Regions from separate parts of the Homo sapiens genome. Here all the other regions are linked to region 5. The links are contacts of gene promoters, found by promoter capture Hi-C in blood cells and fetal thymus (Javierre and others, 2016). All regions are on one chromosome and are shown on one strand. Each heading gives the region's core, a stretch centred on a gene start or on the middle of the fragment in contact. The rest is flanking DNA. Distances are from core to core; before and after follow the strand shown. Region 1 overlaps CYRIB (CYFIP related Rac1 interactor B). Region 2 has its middle 11 kb from the start of CCDC26. Region 3 overlaps ASAP1 (ArfGAP with SH3 domain, ankyrin repeat and PH domain 1). Region 4 has its middle 44 kb from the start of CCDC26. Region 5 holds the start of LRATD2 (LRAT domain containing 2).

Region 1 (2,515 bases), core at 16-2,515, 3.4 Mb before region 5:
TTTCAATGCTGGATGAGCTTCTAGCCCTTCCCAGGGGATTCTCAGGCCTCTGTCCCCTGTCCTCTTCCCCTTTCTTCGTTAAATATCCATGGAGTCCTCATCCCTAAGGCAACACTGGAGTCCCTGACTATGGTGGAAATGTTTGGAGCTGTTTTCTAAAGGATTCAGTGTTCATTCATCCTGTGAAAAGGAAGAGAGAAACAGTTGATAGAACTCCCTGAATGTTCAATTGAGGAGCGAGACTGGATACAGAGGCAGCAAAAACTATACTCTAGGTGCTGAAGCATATTGAAAGATGTCTTTGAGTGAAGGCTGGCAGCAAAATATAGAGTCTTCTCTAAGGACAATTGGGCAATAACAAATCAGGATCTAAAAAATTTTCAGATCCTTTGACCCAGTAATTACAATCCAGGGAGCTTACGCTGAGGTCAGAGTTTTTTTAAAGGGAAAAACAAAGAAAACAAAATGTCTCTAACAAAAGTTAACAGTCAATAATGACATAGTGCTTTGGAGCTTTGAAAGTATTTTCTTATACAGTCTTCATGAGAGCTTCCCAACATTTCCGAGAAGTAGATTGTCTTATCTCCATTTCACAGATAGGAAGCAAAGATCAAGTGAGTGGGTCTAGTTCACTCTGGCAGATTTAGGACCTGAGCTGCAGCTCATGGATGGCTACCCAGTGGGTTTGGTCAGAAACTCAAGGTACAGCTGGGTGCAGTGGCTCCCAGCACCTTGGGAGGCCAAGGTGGGCAGATCCACCTGAGGTCAGGAGTTTAACACCAGTCTGGCCAACATGGTGAAACCCTGTCTCTATTAAAAATGCAAAAATTAGCCAGGTGTGGTGGCTCATGCCTGTAATCTCAGCTACTCACTCAGGAGGCTGAGGCAGGAAAGTCGCTTGAACTCGGGAGGCGGAGGCTGCAGTGAGTGGAGATTGTGTCACAGCCCTCCAGCCTGGGGCGACAGAGCAAGACTCTGTCTCAAATAGATAAATAAATAAAAATACAAAAAAAAGAAACTCAAGGTACAGTGGTGGGAGTCAAAAAAGCATAAGGAGAAAACCAAGACTGAAAACTGTTATTGAGCTTAGTCTGTGCCTAGTTCAGTCCCTAGCATTTTACAAGTTTTCTCTGAGTTAACAAACTTGTGGGGGAAACTGAGGCTTTCAGATGTTGAATAACTTGTGTAAGTTGTAGAGCAGGTTTCAGAGCCTAAGTTACATCCAGAGCATAGACATGGTTTCAGCTCTGCTGTGTTGCCCTCTGCATTCACAGGAATGCTTTGTAGAAGGAGTGAATACATGAACACATGAATGAACAAATGGATTAGGGAGTTAGGACATGAAAACCAGCTTCTGTGGAAACTTGGACCTCAGGCTCCCCATGGATGACAGGTTCTTTTCCATAGTTCCGCATTTTTTACCTGCAATACAGCAATGCGGTTGCCCAGGCCCCTCCCAGGAGAGTTGCAGCTTCCCCGGAGGCCACACTTCTCCAACACCTTTTGCCTAAAGGCTCTTTTTCCCTAAAGGCTCAACTCATCCCTTGCAAAATACCCAAAGCCAAATGAGTCTAGAGGGTAAACCAGCCATGTAGGATGTGGACCTTTAGCAACTGAAGGAAACTGAGGTATTTCAGTATGATGAAATACTCTGTAGTCATTAAAATGATAGATGTGAGTGTGTAGAAATATGAAAAAGTATTGGGAAAGAGTTGCACATATCTGAAGAAACCAATGAAAGCAATGTGCATTTATTTATTTATTTTTGTTTTTGTTTTTTTTTTTGAGACAGAGTCTTACTGCGTTGCCCAGGCTGGAGTGCAATGGTGGGATATTGGCTCACTGCGACCTCTGCCTCCTGGGCTCAAGTGATTCTCCTGCCTTAGCCTTCAGAATAGCTGGGAATACAAGCGTGTGCCACCATGTCTGGCTAATTTTTGTATTTTTAGTAGAGACGGGGTTTCACCATGTTGGCCAGGCTGGTCTCGAACTCCTGGACTCAAGTGATCCACCTGCATCGGCCTCTCACACTGCTGGGATTACAGACGTGAGCCACCGCGCCCGGCAAAGCAAGTGCATTTACATGGATAAAGATTGGAAGATAAGAGGAATGAAAACTGTGTAAAAGTATTGATATCACGTGGTGTCACCATCCAGTTTGTCTGCTAAGCCAGGAGCCTCTGGGTCATCCCGACAACCCCAGTCTCCTCTTCCCCCAGATTGAACTTGCAGATTCTGCATCAGGTAGCATCTTAATTCCGGTGCCTGTTCTTCATCCTCGCTGCCAGTTTCCTTGAGCAGGCTCTCCTTATCCCTCTCCTGGACCCCACAGCAGCCTCTTAACTGCTTTGCTGGCCCTCTGTTCTCCCTACCACTGTAGTCCATATTGGACCCTGTGGTCAGAGTGATCCTGATATAAAACATACCTGATTATGTGTCTCCCTTGGTTAGAAGCGTCTCTTTACTTGTTGTTGCCTTCAGAAGGCAAGTTCAAATTTCTTAGTATGGTGTATGA
Region 2 (2,791 bases), core at 167-2,666, 3.1 Mb before region 5:
CCATCCATGGTGTTGGCCACTGTGGGGATGTCAAGTTGTAAAGACCTGGACCCTTTCCTTAAGGAGCTGAACTTGCCAAAACACAAATGTGCTCAAATAACATAATGAAACGCAAAATGAACACAGGACTAGAAACTGTGAGCTCTGGATTTTAGTCTCGCTCTGGTATTGATCTCCATGGTGTTTTGGGGCCTTGAATATTTCCTTACCTGTGAGATGGTGAGGTTAGGTCTGCCTTCCTGTCCCAGGGAAAAGGCAAAGGCAGTGTCCATCTCTAGCCTATTCCTTCTTGGTTGTATGATCATGAGAAGTCATTTCATCACACTGGAGCTCAAGTCCTCATTTTTAATGTGGGGGGAGTAAAAGCTTGTCCCACGGAGTGTGAGGATGATCTAAAACAGCTGCAGGAGAGTACAGAGCATGCTACCTGGAAGAGAGTCAGCCTCTAACAAATGCTCATTCTTTGTCCCACACTCCCATGGCTCTGTTTTTTCTTGGAAGGGGTGAATGGAATCAAGGATGGTAATACATATGAAATCTCGTTAAAATAGGAAGTGCCCTCCATAAATGCCAGGGGAATCCCATGTAGATTTCTACATAGGAGAGTCTGGGGGGGCTCTTAAGGCTGATCTCTGGGAGGATCTGTGCCTCTCCTAGTGTCCTGTCTTTCTTCTGGTTCTAAGTCTCTGGACAGGCCTTCCCCAGGAGGGCTCCTTGGTCAAAGGAACTCCTTTCCCAGAAGCATGCAGAAGGTGACAGGCACAAACACAAAGACAGACTGTCCTTGGCTTTCTGGAGCAGAGATAGCTTCAGACATTCTGCCTCACTCTTATGGGGACCTGTCAGCCCAGTTCTTGGGTCAGAAAATGGGTTCATGGTAGGTTAACCTAAGCCACAACCAGTAACGACTACTTTTCTCTAATGGTTCATCAAAGCCTTTTGACCCTTCCTTCTCCATTGCTCTACCATCCACCTCCACTGTTCCAGCCTTCCTGCAGCTCCCACGTACTGCATGCCTTCGTCACTTCCTGCTTTGCCTCTGGCGCTAGCGTCCGACTGTTCTTCCCTTCTTCCAGTCCACCTTTCTCACCACAACTAAAAGAACGTTTCTGCTTTGATCACATGATTGCCGTGGAAGTGAAACATGCAGAGAACCCCAAGGGGTGAGGAGGCTGCAGCCCTTTATTTGGCTGGACTTTGTCTTGAGAGCTTCTCTGCCCTTGCTTTGCTTTGTTTATATAGAAACAGGTATTTCGTTATAATTCCTTTTTTTTTCTGCAGAAAGATTAAGTGCAAACACTTGGCATTCAAGGCAACCCCTCAGGGAATCCAGCTTTTCCAGCTTTCTATGACAAACTCCTTCAAGTACATTGTAGTGATTAAGGGCATGGACTTTCAATCCTGACTATGTTCAAGTCTTACCTCTGCTGCCTATCAGCTATGTGATCTTGGGCAAGTTACTTAACCTCTCTATGCTTTGACTTCCTTATCCATACTTTGGGAATAATAATACTCCATACCTCACAGGGTTATTGTGAGGGTTAAATGAGATTATCTATATAAAGTTCTTAGAACTTTGCTTAGCACAGTAAGTACTCAATAAGTTCTATCCATTCCAGAAACCTCCACCCTAGCTAAATTCATCTCTGTTAACAGCCGCACATGTGCTTTTGACTTTCCTGCCTCTGTGATTTCAGCTGCTCCTTTCACCTGCCTGCAATGATCCCTCTCTTTCCTTTTGGCTTTATCCAAGCTCTCCTTGTCCTCTATTGCTAAGGAAACTCAAGCAATTTCTCAGGACCTCTATGGCTAAGGAAACTCAGGTAATTGTTCAGGAGAACGAGACAGAACTCACCCTGGTTCCTACAGCTGAGTTACTGTGGGAGGTCACCTGGCTTCTCCACATTTCAGCCTTCCCCTTGGTGAAGTGCAGATACTTAACACAGACCTTGTGAAGTCATTGAAAGAAAAATTCTCAAATTCTGGCAGATAGTAGGTATTTAATGAATGATAGATATTATTAAGCCAAGCTAGTCCTTCCTACCTGAACTTTTCCCTCTGAACTCTTCTAGTAATTATTGATTCCATCATTTATCTGGTCATTCATTGACCATGTAGTACTTTGTATCACCTCATCTTTTCTTTCTTTTTGTCCTGCTTGGAATGATTACTGTAATCTTATGACTGCTTAGTTTTTTAAACATGCATAGTATCCTCCTCACTGCATTGGGGTTTCCTGGCGGGAAGACCCTGCACAGACATTTGTAACGTGACCAGAGTTTTAATGTGCAATCCCTCCATGCTAGCAGCTTGGTGAGGTGCTTACATTTTGTAGGACTTCATAGGCTTTTTGCTGTGGTATGTCGGCCTGGTACAGCCCAGGGCTTTGAGGCTGCAGCTCTCTCTTAAGTGTTTATTTTTTGCACCTTTGCCTTTGGGCGATGGACTCCCCCACCTAAAGCTTTGGACTTTTCCTGGCTGCCTCATTGACCAGTTGTGAGGCTGACACCAGCCTGTGAGTCCAGAGCTGGGTCAGAGCAGATAAGGGCTTGTTCTCAGAACCAGCATGGTGATCACTGTGTGTCTTCTCCTTATTTTCTTCTCTGTGAAAACATGTGCCTCGTAATTTGTGTTCTGAGAAATATCTCAACGGTCCTGTGCCCTAAACATTTCCTCATCTGAGATAAGGCCTGGATGTTGGCTCTAAGGAGGGAAAAAGGTACAGTGGAGAGGAAGTTCTGATCAGCAGGAAGATTTCCCAAGCAACGACACCGCCTCTGGCAGCAATGGC
Region 3 (2,700 bases), core at 103-2,602, 3.8 Mb before region 5:
TTAGAATGCAAATAGTGGTATTAGTAGCTAATGTTTATTGATCACTTACTATATACCAGGCACTGTGCTAAGCATTTGCACAGATTATCTCATTTCAATCTTACCACAACCTTGAGAGAGAGGGCTTATCATCATCTTCCTTTTAACAATAAAGTAATTTAAATTAAATAACTTGCCTAAGGTAACAAATCCTGTTAAATGGCAGCACTGAGATTGAACCCCAGGTAATCTGAATCCAGATCGCACACTCTTAGCCCCTAGAAAGGTTATAAAGCTGCTTAATAACTGTTTGTGGATTAGAACTGAACTGACTGGTTCCCTCCTAATACCTCTGTACCCAGGGGAAAATGTTGTCAGAGACTCAGGAGGCAATGATCTCATCTCTGAAAATGACCAAGGGAGGAGGAACTGTGTCAATCACAATAGGCAACTGGACTTGAGAAAAGGAGAAATTTGACCTACACTCTGCATGTGCTGGGAAGCTTCTCTGGGTAAAGGGTGGGTGGCTTAGAAAAACAGTACAACTAGGTGAGTACTGTGGGGCACAGTCCTCTTGCCCCAAATTAGGAGTGTCAGTTAAGTGATGGTGTGCCAAACTTTATACTGTTACAATTTTTAAATAGTAGGCAATTGTGCATAGGCATTCCTTGATTCTGTGATGCAAAGACAACATAATCTGTTGTAGACGGGAGTTTCTGAAGGTCTTTAATCCTATCCTTGAAATATAACTGGGAAAGGTGGAGTGGGAAACCCTTGGGAACCAGGATACTTGGCATTTGGCTCAGTTCCCACAAATCTGTCAGGGAACACTGGGCAAGTCACCTAACTGCTTGGGAATCAGTTTCCTTATCCAAAAAATGAAAAGTTTGGAAAGCATGTTATCCTTAAAATTCTCGCTGGCTCTTATGGCTTATAGTGATGTAAAATAATGACAGCGACTCTAAAAACCGGGATCACTTCTGTGGATCTTACTCTCTTCTGGATCTCTCCATTTCTCCTCTCTCAATTCCTCTCATACCCTTCCCCCTATAAATGTTTGTTCATTCATTCATTCAGTCTTCCTTCTATTCAGTAAGTATCTCTTAAACACTTGGCACTTTGGGGCCATAATAGCAAATAGAAACCCTCCCTGGTCTTAGGTAGGTCACAGTCTAGTTGGATAAATATAAATATTTGGAAAATGGTACCCTGGAAAATGATACCATTGAAAAGGGCCATAAAAGAGGAACGTTCTCATTCTTGATATAGCACAGAAGTTGGGCATCATTAAAGGTGATGAACTCAACTTAAATTCATCAAAGAAACCTGGGTGTATTGTAAGTTTTTCTCATTTTTCAGGTTAATGTGACTTTATCAGAAATAAGCAAGATTTTAAATCCCTCGTTCCTATAGATCGCAAGTTTTTAGGACTCCCATAAAACACCATGATTTTTTTCTTCATTGGAGGTTGTTTTACTTGTATTAGAAATGATGTAGCTCATAAAAGGGAGCCAGTTCAATTCAAAACACATTTATGGGGGCCCACAAGGGACCCCAACTAGGCAGTGCTTTCCTAGAGAAGAAAAAGCCTACAGGGTTTGGATTCAGACTGACTGAATAGCATTTTTCCACTTATTAACTGTTAACCTTGAGCAAATTGTGCTTATCTCTGAGTTCTCTTGCAGAAAACACACTACCTCACTAGGTTACTAGGAAGATTTCAGGAGATGGTGCTTGTAAAAGGCCAAGCCTGGGGCTCCAGGAATCTTCTGTCCTTGCTTTAGTTGCTGGGGGATGTAGGTGATACAGACATGGGTAGGATTTAGTCCCTGAATGCTGTCAGGGATTGATAGTCTGGGACTTTGCGGTATAGGATACTCACTTGGAAGATACAAGGTGTTTGTTTGTTTGGCATTTGTTTTTTGTGTTTTATTTTATTTATTTATTTTTTGAGACTGGATTGCTCTGTTGTCCAGGCTGGAGTGCTGAGGTGCAGTGGTGCAATCATAGCTCACGGCAGCCTCAAACTCCTGAGCCCAAGTGAGAGATGAGTCAGAGCCAAGCCCTTCTGCTAACAGAGCTATTTGTTGCTGAGGAAGTTCTCAGTTTCTCCTCTGAATGGTGCCAATATCCTCCAGTTGCTTAAGGCAGAGTGAGAGAAGCTGACTGTGGATACCCACATGAAGATTAATCCCACCTGGAGGAATGGGGCAAGGAGCTGCTCTCTAGACCAGTCAAGCTTGCATTTGAATTGGGCTTGTAATGAGTTCCCCAGAAGGAAAACACACGCACATATACCCCAACAGAAAAAGCATCCTGGGGCTGTGGACTCATCCATTGTCTTTGATAAGCCAACAGAGCATGGTGGCTGATCACATGGGCTATGAAATCAGATTGCTTGAGTCCTGCTCCACTACTTGACAGGTAACCTCTAAGCTTCAGGTTTCCCATGCATATAACATGGGGAATAATACAGTACCTGCTTTATATTGTTGCTGCAAGTATTAAGTGAGGTTGCGCCTGCAATGACTCAGGATAATACAGGGCGCATAATACTAAGCACAATTATTCTTTCATAGGACTAAACAGAAATACATCCCTGAGTTCATTCAGTTGATATTTATGCTACATTTCTTCTAGGTTCCCACCATTCTGCCTCTTTTCTTCCTACTTCCATCAGAGGAACAGGGAGGTAGAACCAGAGTAGTTTTTTGTCTCCAA
Region 4 (2,700 bases), core at 34-2,533, 3.2 Mb before region 5:
TGGAAATTGAGCTGTTAGAAAGAAAAGAACGCATGAGTGTGTCTTTGATTTGAATACAGGTAGTCAGTTCATTACCTGAGGTTCCAGGGAGGATAAATCTTGCCTTTAATCTATACCAGCTTTATTGTCAGGGAACAGGACAGGGACGTGCTGCCATTATTCACCATCACTTATTTGAGGACACTTATTTAGCCTGTACTCCAACAGATAGTCTAATAAGATACTTGATGGAGAGAGGGCATGTGTGAATGTGAATGTGGAAAATGGTGGCCCCATGGTCTTCCTCTTGAGCTTTCTCAGGCTAGCAGAGGACAGGAGCAATCACAACAGCTCAAGTTAGAAAGGGGCTGAAGGGTTAACTTGTTCAACTGGCCTTGTATTCTCAAATTCCTTTTATGATATTGCTTCAGGAGCACTTCAAGAAAACCTCCAAGTAGAGCTTGAGATCTTAGTCCCTCTGTGCCACCTTGCAATGCCTTTTTCTTCTCATGAGAAGCTGGGCTCCTCAAACTATGCCCTTTGTTAATTGTTATTTCTTTGAATACTTCAAGGCCCTGTATTCCTTCTATAGGTAGCTCCCTCCCACCCCAGTAAGGGAGGAGGATTATGTGAATTCTAATAACATTTTTTTCCATAATTTCCAATAGTTCCTTTTTGGATAATTATGCTATCTAACGCTTTTTCGCTAAAAAGTATCATTTTTTTGAAGAATTCTACTTCTGTTTCTGTGTGTGAACATATATAGTTTTCTATACAAAATTAGGAACCAGCTTGTCATTAAGTGAGTTGTTACTCATTGTTTATTGGATGCATACAAGATACCAGGAATACAGGAGGGAATAAGACAGAAAACCTGCCTTCCAGGAGTTTGTATTTTAATAAGCTGTCATCTCAGACAAGGTGAAAGAAGATTGTATTATCTATTGCAAACAAATTGTTATTGTATTATCTATTGTGTTATCAATATAATCTATTGATAAACAAATAGATTGTATTATCTATTGCATAACAAATCACCCCCAAAACGTAATGGCTTAAAATAATAAACATTTAACTTATATTTTCCTCTTTCTGCTGGTTAAGAATTTGGGAATGGCCTACCTGGCTGGTTCTGGCTTAGGGTCTTACATGTGACTGCAGTTGGATGTTGGCAAGGGCTATAGTCACCTGAAAGCTTAATTGAGGCTGGAGGATCTGTTTTGAAGATGGCTGTCTTGCATGGCTGTAGGCAGGAGGCCTTAGTTCCTAACCATGTGGTCTCTCCATAGATGGCTTGAGTGCCCTCTCAACATGGAGGCTGGATTTCTCCAGAGTGAGTGATTGCCTCAGGATACAGCAAGCCTGGCTTTCCCCAGAGGCCATGATTGCTTTAGGATGCAAAAGCAAGCTTTTGTGCCCACATATTAATTAATTAGTTAATTCAACAAGTATTTATTGAACACTTACTATTTGCTAGAAGTTCCAGCATTAAAACATACCTCATTCTTTCCTCACTGAGAGTCTGGAAAAAGTAAAAATACTTTCAGCTTAGTTAAAAATTGGAAGGGCTAGAGTAGTAGTATTTTCTAGAGTAATTCATAGAGAAATAAACCATTTAACCAAGGTAGGGGTGCAATCCAATCACTTGCAAATAAACAGTGCAACTGCCCTTGATTCAAGTGTGCTCTGGGTCTCTTTTTATTTTGGAAATCCTTGTGCTTTTGTAATGGCTGCCTAGGAACCAGGGCTTTGCTCAGTTCATGCCAGGAGTGTTTGAGCAGAGTTGATCAATGGCATTAAAATTCACTAGGTTTCCCAAGCAGTAAAAAACTGCTAGATGCGGCCAGGCGCGGTGGCTCATGCCTGTAATCCCAGCACTTTTGGAGGCCGAGGCGGGTGGATCATGAGGTCAGGAGTTCGAGACCAATCTGACCAGGATGTTGAAACCCTGTCTCTACTAAAAATACAAAAAAAAAAAAAAAAAAAAGGAGAAGAAAAAATAGCCAGGCGTGGTGGCACATGCCTGTAATCCCAGCTACTCAGGAGGCTGAGGCATGAGAATAGCTTGAACCCGGGAGGCAGAGGTTGCAGTGAGCCGAGATCATGCCACTGCACTCCAGCTTGGGCGACAGAGAGAGACTCCATCTCAAAAAACAAAAACAGAAACAAAAAAACTGCTAGATGCTGAGCCCGGATGGCCACCTAGCAGTGCAGAGGGTGAGTGTCAAGGTCAGAAGACCCTGGGACGGGTAGAATTTTTCTAGGTTGGGAGGAAGGATGTGCATGCACGATGGTAGTTTTACTCATGGTTGGCTAACAGTGGCATGATTCACATCTAAGAATAGATAACATTTGTTTGAAAATGTTTTTGGTGTTTGCTTTCAGTGGTGCTTACACTGAAATGGGAATGGCACAGAAAAATAGAATGTGGTGAGTACCTCCCTCTTGTTTGTGAACATTCTACAGTTTTATGATTAGAATCTATCAATTTTAGAACTCTGGTGCGTAGATAATTCAAATCAGCTTAATTCTCAAAATTTTCGCTGGCCCCAAACAAAAACATATGACTAGAATCCTTTTTAAATATGTGTTTTGAAAAAAGTTAAATCCATCTGTATGCAAGACTATGCTATATGTAAGACTCTGGGTTAACATATGTTGAAGTGAGAAAGACATTGTTTGGCATTTACCATTCATTCATTCATTTATTCAATAAATATT
Region 5 (2,700 bases), core at 70-2,569:
TGGATTCATTCAGTCACATGCGCCTGAGGCCAGCCAGTCTGAAATTATTGAAACAGAATCGCACAGCACACAGTAGTCTCATGTTGATCTAACTTATACTTCAGACTTGCTGAAGGACTAATTTCTATCACAGCCCTGCCAATATTGATTGTTTGGACTCAAAATTACATAAGTAGAATGATTTTTATTTTTTTCTCCTAAACTAGAAAGGATCACAGTAGTGCTAGTATATTCCTGTTTCCACTGGCTGGTTATACATGCTGGAAAAAATTAGTCAAAAGAAAGCAACTGAAGACAGAATATAGGTCTTGAATCGCATTCTTAAGTCCCCTACGAATAAGTCTGGGTGCTTGCAGTAGTGCCTAAACTTGTTTATTGTAAACAGAGCTGTTAATCCTCCACCCTCACCGGACCCATTATTTTAAAAAAATAAACAACAACAACAACAAAAAAAACACTTTGGTAGCCTACATTTAGGTAAAAGAAACGAAACCAGTGGAGAGGTGGAAGTGTCCTTTTGTGGTGGAGGTTAGTAGGCATTACTGGTCTCCTGTCACTTCCCTAAGTCAACAGGAAGGAAATATATCCACTAGGGCCTCTGCTAATTTGTTTCTAATTTAAGGACAATTAGAATTAGGATGTAGGAATTAGGCAATTCCTACATCCCCTAACCCCCCACCCCCCCAAAAAAAAGCAGTCAGAGCTGCACGCTTCTCTCACTATCCAACGAACTGGTACCTCTCTGGAAATAACGGAGGTTATGAACTTTGTACTAACTTCCAGGGGTATCTAATAAACAGAGCGGTGGTCTTGGGACCCAGTCAGTGAATAAGTCTTCGTTCTGTTTTATACTGTTTCTTTTCTGCGATTTTCTTTTCTACCCCAAAGTTTCCCACTACTAACTCTGAAAACACCTCTAGGATGACGCACTCTTCGAGCTGTCCTGGTGAAGAATCCTTTCTTGTGACCTTTAGGGCAAGAAATATGTTCCAGGAAAGAAAAGAAACGACTGTTCCTCCTTCTCCAGGTACTCTGGGAAAAAACAGGTCAAAGGGAAAAGGCGCAAACACCAAACTCTCCTTCCCTTTCTCATTTCCACACTGGCAAGTTGTGTTTGCCTTCTAACTTGTCTCGGAAGGCAAGCAGAGCTCACAGCACCAGCCCCAGGCGGCGGGTGGATTATTTACAGGGGGATTTAAACCCGCTCCGGCGCGGGGGCGTGGCCGGGCGGAGTCCCGAGGCCCGAGTGGGCGGGGCGGGGGCGGGGCTCCCGGCCGCTCGGCGCAATGTGAAAAAGACCCGAGCTCGGGGAGTGAGCGCCTGTCTCTTTAAATGCCACGGGCTGCGCTCCCGCCCGGGAGCCCGGAGCCGGATCTACAATCCCGTCCCTCCAGCTCCGGTGCTTGTTGCTCGCCCGGCCCAAGCGGGAGCTGTTGCCGCCAGGCTGCGAGGCTGCCGTCCTCTCCTCCTCGCGCCCCACCTCCCCCGAGAGCTGGCTGAGGAGGGGCAGCAGCCCCAGCTGGCGGGAGGAAGCGCGGTGTGAACAGGGATTGCCCCCCGCCTTCAAGTATCGGGGCGCTACGCAGCCGCGGGGGAAAGACATGCCCCTAGTCTGCCCGCTGCGCTGCCCTCTGCCCAGCCTCGCTGCCGCCCGCGCCGGGAGAGGAGGGACTGCCGAGCCTACACCTTCAAACTCGCCCTAGAAGTCTCGGGGCGCGGCAGGGAGCCCTTCCCCAGGCCCCACGGCCTTCACCTCTCCGCGGGTGAGTTTGTGCAGGTAACCCGAGCCTGAGGGCGGGCGCGGGGGAAGGGCGGGCGAGCCGGGAGGAGGTAGCGCTGCAGGTGAGCCAGGTAGGGTGACTCACCTGTCCAGGTCGCGCTCTGAGATCCTCGCTTGTTCCTCTGGGGATGGATGCGTTGGTGGGGAGGAGGCGTCCCCGGGGCTAGTTAGGGCCCGAGGGTGGGAGGGGAAGTTAGCAGAGGAGGGGGGGGATTGGCGTAAAGTTTCTCTTTCCTTCCCTCTTCCTGCCCAAGCTTGGCAGGTAGGGCGCAGGCGGAAGCAGTAGAAGCTGCTGATGCAATGGGCTTTTGCCAGGGCCAGGCGAAGGGCTGGGGACAGGGAGAACAGGAGTTGCCCAGTCTCCTGTGACCGTGACCTTACAGGTGGAGAAACGAGGGAAAGCTCGCTACACCCGAGACTTCCCCCTAAAATGGCTCCAGGTGCTGAGCCCCCACCGATTCTTTTTCGGAACAAAACGCCCTTTTCACGGAGGGGCTCCTGCATGGCTTTCTTGCCTTCCTCTCCCAACAGGTAGCCTCAGCCCCTGTCCGGGGACCTGTGCAAATGACCCTGGAGTTGGTTTCGCTTTCTCCCCTTGCGGCGGTGTGAACGTGTGTCCGCAGCGTGATGGGCAACCAGGTGGAGAAATTGACCCACCTAAGTTACAAGGAAGTTCCCACGGCCGACCCGACTGGCGTGGACCGGGACGACGGGCCCCGCATTGGGGTCTCCTACATTTTCTCCAATGACGATGAGGACGTGGAGCCGCAGCCGCCGCCTCAGGGGCCAGATGGCGGCGGCTTGCCCGACGGTGGGGACGGGCCGCCGCCGCCCCAGCCGCAGCCCTACGATCCGCGGCTGCACGAGGTGGAATGCTCCGTGTTCTACCGGGACGAATGCATCTACCAGAAGAGCTTCGC

Evidence for each region. Contacts are between HindIII fragments. The CHiCAGO score rates a contact against its expected background, and 5 or more counts as called.
Region 1: a contact is called between a fragment that was not itself captured here and the fragment with the promoter of LRATD2 in region 5, in 1 of 17 cell types (fetal thymus). The highest score is 6.3, in fetal thymus.
Region 2: a contact is called between a fragment that was not itself captured here and the fragment with the promoter of LRATD2 in region 5, in 1 of 17 cell types (total CD4 T cells). The highest score is 7.6, in total CD4 T cells.
Region 3: a contact is called between a fragment that was not itself captured here and the fragment with the promoter of LRATD2 in region 5, in 1 of 17 cell types (fetal thymus). The highest score is 6.5, in fetal thymus.
Region 4: a fragment that was not itself captured here is called in contact with the fragment with the promoter of LRATD2 in region 5 in 2 of 17 cell types (total CD4 T cells and fetal thymus); the score reaches 9.5 in total CD4 T cells.

The regions. Positions count from the first base shown.
Region 1 is chr8:129,944,053-129,946,567 of GRCh38, reverse strand. The region is part of intron 2 of CYRIB (CYFIP related Rac1 interactor B); the gene reads left to right. Among named protein-coding and RNA genes, the nearest start is that of MIR5194, 63 kb to the left of the region's middle. RefSeq lists an enhancer at 720-1,220. The HindIII fragment of the contact is 5,391 bases long and covers 1-2,515 here.
Region 2 is chr8:129,689,397-129,692,187 of GRCh38, reverse strand. No RefSeq gene overlaps it. Among named protein-coding and RNA genes, the nearest start is that of CCDC26, 11 kb to the right of the region's middle. RefSeq lists enhancers at 1-763, 1,616-2,791 and a cis regulatory region at 2,494-2,791. The HindIII fragment of the contact is 2,095 bases long and covers 369-2,463 here.
Region 3 is chr8:130,364,166-130,366,865 of GRCh38, reverse strand. All of the region lies in intron 2 of ASAP1 (ArfGAP with SH3 domain, ankyrin repeat and PH domain 1), which reads left to right. Among named protein-coding and RNA genes, the nearest start is that of ASAP1-IT1, 69 kb to the right of the region's middle. The HindIII fragment of the contact is 1,736 bases long and covers 485-2,220 here.
Region 4 is chr8:129,722,686-129,725,385 of GRCh38, reverse strand. It overlaps a transcript of GSDMC not described here. Among named protein-coding and RNA genes, the nearest start is that of CCDC26, 44 kb to the right of the region's middle. The HindIII fragment of the contact is 213 bases long and covers 1,177-1,389 here.
Region 5 is chr8:126,557,097-126,559,796 of GRCh38, reverse strand. It overlaps LRATD2 (LRAT domain containing 2), which reads left to right and starts at 1,319. Exons shown (of 2, transcript NM_174911.5): 1 at 1,319-1,763; 2 at 2,312-2,700. The coding sequence starts at 2,408. LOC105375751 (a long non-coding RNA gene) reads right to left here and starts at 1,921. Exons shown (of 6, transcript NR_188069.1): 1 at 1,866-1,921. RefSeq lists a silencer at 1,187-1,366 and an enhancer at 1,081-1,917. The HindIII fragment of the contact is 2,746 bases long and covers 1-2,036 here.